2 separate regions of the Homo sapiens genome follow, and region 2 is linked to region 1. Evidence: promoter capture Hi-C in 16 types of primary human blood cells and fetal thymus (Javierre and others, 2016). All regions are on one chromosome and are shown on one strand. Each heading gives the region's core, a stretch centred on a gene start or on the middle of the fragment in contact. The rest is flanking DNA. Distances are from core to core; before and after follow the strand shown.

Evidence for each region. Contacts are between HindIII fragments. The CHiCAGO score rates a contact against its expected background, and 5 or more counts as called.
Region 2: a fragment that was not itself captured here is called in contact with the fragment with the promoter of PHF3 in region 1 in 4 of 17 cell types (monocytes, total B cells, naive B cells and 1 more); the score reaches 13.8 in monocytes.

The regions. Positions count from the first base shown.
Region 1 is chr6:63,634,508-63,637,118 of GRCh38, reverse strand. PHF3 (PHD finger protein 3) reads right to left here and starts at 1,317. Exons shown (of 16, transcript NM_001370348.2): 1 at 969-1,317. RefSeq lists silencers at 543-722, 1,163-1,522 and enhancers at 740-1,560, 2,092-2,611. The HindIII fragment of the contact is 3,030 bases long and covers 1-2,337 here.
Region 2 is chr6:62,299,302-62,301,912 of GRCh38, reverse strand. No RefSeq gene overlaps it. Among named protein-coding and RNA genes, the nearest start is that of KHDRBS2, 14 kb to the right of the region's middle. The HindIII fragment of the contact is 3,646 bases long and covers 1-2,611 here.

The DNA of each region.
Region 1 (2,611 bases), core at 68-2,567:
GTAATGCAGATTAGGACTAGAATATTAAAGCAGTGTTGCCACTTAACATTAATCCATGAACATATTCTACGCGTGACTACTGGAAAGCACTAATAACCACCCCAATCTAGTCTCTAGGAATTGGCATTTAAAAGCCCAAAGATGGAAAAAGGTCACCTAACCCGGCAACACATCCTGAGGGAAAGGAGGGACACAGGACTCCGTGCGCGATATCAACATTCTCTTCCTTTCTACTCTCCGCACCGCCCCCGCCCCCCGTGTCAGGTGATCAGTTATTTAGCACCATTAACACGTACGTATCGACAAGTGGTTCATTAAATTACATGTATTATCGGAAGGCAAGAGTCTAGGCTTCTCATTTCAAACTAAGCAAAAGGAGTCCACAGTTTGAGTCCCGGGCACAAAAGCGCGCGGTAACTGGAGGATAAATGGAAGAGCAACTCTCATCTCCAAAAAGCAGCAGCAGGGAGCAGCCTAGCAGCCAGGGCCAGTCCCAGTTTCCCGAAACCAAGGCCCAAAGCTCCATGCTGGGGCTCCCTGAGAAGGAAGAGGCCCCAACGGCCGGATCCGGGGGCCTGCGAGACGGGCCTTCCAGGCAGCGCCCGCCGTGCCTCGGGCCTGCGCGCCCGCGCCTCAGCGGCGGCGGGGCGCCCTCGCAGCAGACGGCTGGGTACCAGTGGTCGGGAGAGAGGCCGTGGTCCCGACCCTCCGCCTGGCGACCGCGTCGCTGCGACTCCCTCCCCAGCCCGCGGTCCAAATGGTCCACAGGCGCCAGCGGCGCGGCCCAGGTAGGCCGAGGACGTTGCGCAAGAGGCCCGAGAGGCGATCTCTCGGCTGCGCGGGAGAAAAGCGCGGAGAGTCCGCCGCGGGAGGGGCGGAGAGGCCCGCGGAGGCGCTGTGCGTGTGGAAGGGGATGGGGGAGGGGAGGATTGCCCGTCTCCCTGGCCGCGGCCACAGCCGCAACTCACCCAGCTCCGCCAGACGAGCGCTACCACTGGCAGCAAGAGGAAGATGGTGGACGCTGCCGCCGCCGAAGAGGAGGAGGAGGGGGCCCGGTGGGTGCCGCGGAGAGGGGGTACGCGCAGGACGTCGGCGTCGCTGCCACAGCCTCTTTTCCTCCTGGGACCAAATGGCTGCTGCTGACGACACTATTCTTGGCTTCCGCGCCGCCCTCCTAATCCTCGTTGCAGCCGCCGCCGCCCTGAGCCCGAAGGTCGCTTGCCGCGTGGGGACGGTGCGACGGCGCGAGACCCCGCAGCCATCGGCGTGCGGCGGCGGCGCGGGAGCTGGAGAGGGGCCGTGTCACGTGACCCCACTGTTTACCGTTCCGGGGGCCGCGGCCTGCGTCGCTGCCGCGCCTGCGCGCTTTAGGGCCTCGAGCGCCGCGCCTCCGTGGGGCCCCGGGCTGCAGCGCTTCCCGGCGTTGCCGCGCCCCTCCCTGTCTTCGGAGGACGCGGCACCGCCTGCGGGCTTCTAGCTCACACCTCCGCGCCGCCGGGAGGGGCGAATCAGAGGAGCGCTTTTTCTCGACCGTAGTAAGCACTAAGGCTTCACAGTTAATATAATATTGATGCGCAGCTCCCCAACCCCAGGTACTTTTTATTAATTGACTGTGAGTTCAAGAATGGTAGAATAGGATGGAGTAGATGAGCCCTCTGCCCAAATATCTGTGCTGGCTCGGCACAGCAGCCTTACCATTAACTACCTCCGTTACCCTCACCCTACATGGCTGATCTACCTCAGGACTCAAATTGCTACCTCCAAGAAACATTCTTGGTATCCAGTAAGCAGTCTTCAGAATGTGGTCCCAGGTTTCCCTGAGGGGTCGCCAAGACCTTTCAGTAGAGCCTCCATTCCTTTGCCAGGAGCATGTGTCTAAGGCCAAATTTTCTTCCCACCCTTCAACCAAAACAGCATATAGCAGCTGATTCAATGCAGAAACAGATAAGAGAATCCAGCCATCTTCTATTAAGCCAGACATTGAGGAAATCTGCAGAAATTTTAGATATCACCCTTTTATTAATTTGGAAAATATGCTTTTCATAAATACATTATTTGTGGTAACAAATATTGTGTAGAGGTCCAGAGACAAAAAAAGTTTGAGACCCACTGGTCTGCTTCCACAGACACTTGAGCTAACCCCTATCTCAGCCCTTAATAAGCGCTGTGAAGTAATTGTTGCTTGTCAGTCACTCCAACCAAAAGGAGCTACTTAGGGACAGGGTTTGTGGCTTTTATCTACAGGGACTATTACAGTATTCAGCCAGTACCTGCTGAGCACCTTACTGTGTGGTCTGCACTGTTCTAAAACCTTTACAGTACTTGTTGATTTAAGCTTTAGACCAACCGCAGCCCACATTGTAAGATTAGTGCAGGGTGGAAGAATAAGTCACAGGCATGTGGTGAAGATCTGTTCTTTCCTCTCTCTAGTCTTCTGATATTTTAAGCACTCTTAATAGCAAATGCTCTTCTACAAAGGAAGTTTGGGTTGTCCTGATTCCACTGGATTCTTAAGAGTTTCACCCCCTGTCTTGACTAATCAATCCCTCAAGACTTTGTTTTACAATCTTTTTGTAATGTGTTTTTGAGAAAGGAAAATAGAAATGAGTAA
Region 2 (2,611 bases), core at 32-2,531, 1.3 Mb after region 1:
ACTTTTTACTGCCTATGGGCTTTTTTTTCAACTCATTTAAAAGGCATTATGCTTTGATAATGGACTGTCTGAAGATGGAACTGAATTATAATTTTTTAAACTTCAATTTAATCAATGCCAGAGGCTACCCAGAGATACAGGTTTGCTCACAAAAAGTTCTACTCTAGTTCAACTCTTTATATATTATTGTTATTGGAAAATATTTAGAGTGTATATACATGAATATGTGTGGATAAATATGTAAATATATTTTCAAAAGTAGTTTTCATGATGATAACAAGATATCTTGGAATTTTTATGGCTTTATTTACAGGATGAACATACAAGAAAGAAGAAATTTTTAGTAGTAGCAAAACAGGCCTTGGGATTTGGCAGACCTAGCTTTGAATTCTTGTTCTGCATTTTTCTAGCTATGTTACTTAATTTCTTTGAGTCTGGAAAATGATGATGGCAAGCCATATTGCTAAGGTCCAAATTAAATAACATTGTAAATCACCAACATGGTAGAAAGCCTTCAAAAACATTGGTATTCCCCTTAAGAAAAATTAGAGAATCTACTGGCCTAAATCTAGGTGGTGGCGGTTGGTTTTTGTTGTTGTTGTTGTTTTTGTTTTTTGCTCTGGAATACATAGCAACCAAAAAAGAGTAAATTGCATGTTTGCACAGCAACTTAATCTGCTTATGAGTAACATAAAGCAAACAGCAACCAAATCTACTTCTGAGTAACATAAAGGAAAAATAAACTAAGTTCAGCGAGACTTCCTAAGCTGGCTACAGGTCTTCCGGTAAAATTATAATTAACTATGAATGTTATAAGAAATTTTGCAGATGTATTCAGTTTTGCCTGATGGACTTAGCACATATTTAAAACAAATATGAAGAATTTGGTATTTTTAATATATATCACAAATGAAGTCTTTATTTTGCCTCAAATTGGTGCCTTTTCAATTTTTCCCTATTTACTCGTGATAGCACCATCTACAAAATGATTGCTCAAGCCACATATCTTGGATTAATTTTTGATATTTTTATTTCCCTCACTCTTCTATACCCAATCTTTTGTTTAAGTCCTTTGTGCTCTACCTCCAAAATATATCTTTAATTTGTCCTCTTCTCCTTTTACCCACTATTATTATAGCACAAGCCATTGCCACCTTTCATTTGAGCTACTACATTAGTCTCCTGAATTAAGTATTACCTGCAATCATAGAAACATCCAAAATAACTATTACTTTAAAAGTTAGTTGTTTTCTCTCTAACATAAAATAAATGAAAAGTTAAGTAATCCAGAACTGGTATGGTAGTTCTATGAAGCTGTCAGAAAGAATTAAGCTAGAGCTCACTAGGTAGGTGTGATTCCCAAGCCTATGTTATAGTCTATGAAGACTGATAGAACTCCAGCTATCACAAGCAGCAGTATGGAGGAAGTAGAGCAGAAGACTCTGCTCCTCCCATTAAAGAGACCACCTATAAGTACATATGACACTTCAATTTTCAGTATATTGGCCAGAAATTAGTCATGTTTCAATTAGCTGCAAGGGAGCCTGTAAAATGCTTCTAGGTCAGTGTGACTCACTAAGAACTGGGCTTCTGTTTTTATCTGCTTCTTGTCTACCTCTCTAAATTATGATTCAATATGCTCCTATTACACTTCAGTCATCTAAGTGTATACTAAGGTTTCTCCCTCTTTATGATCTTAGCACACACTATGTTTTCTGCCTAGGAGGTTCCAACTCCATCTCCCACCTCCCTCCGCCGCTGGATAACTACTTGTCTTTCAGGTTTTGCTCTAATGCAGCTTTTTCAGATAGATTTCCCAGATAACCCAATCAAAATTGCTACCTCTCATCAACGATCTGTTTCTCTTGCTCAGGGGGCCCATTTTTATTCTTCATAAAAATCATTGTCCATTTTCTTGTTTGATTTCAGTCTATCTCACTCTCTAGTCTAAAAAAAGGTCTGTGAGAGGACTGTGTTTCTTTTTTCTCAGTGTGCAAAGCCTGGTATTAGAAAAAAAAAAAGAAAAAAAAGAAAAGAAAGGAAGTAAGGGAGGGAGGAAAAAATGGAAATAAATAAAGGAAAATAGAAAATAGAAATTTATTTGAAAACCCAGGTATGTTGTTATCTTTTATAGACTGATTGTTTGGCTTTCACATGCCTTTTGGACACTTTCCATGTTCTTTGCCTCACAGTTATAGTTCAGAAAAAGATACATCTAATTCAACAAACATTCATTGAGTGAATAATTTGATCTTAAATGGAAAAACAATCAGCACTGATTTTTCAGTTCTGTTTTGCTGTTTCAAAATAATATTATAAAATCAATACCCACTGGATTCAACTCTCCAAGTGAAAATGGAACAGGGTGAATGAAGAGTTTTAAATCATATTTAGACAATGCCTCCTAAGAAAATGGCTTGAATGCATTTTAGAATAAGGTATGTGAGTAAAGGCTAACAGGTCTCTCTGCAAATACAAGCACAAAAATATAGGAATTAAATTTGTGTATTTGAATTACAATTGTCTGCTGCTATAATTGTATGTAAGAAAGTAAAATTACTTTAAAAGGCCTTTTGCCTGTGTGGTAATGAGTATGAAAGTGTTCTATTAC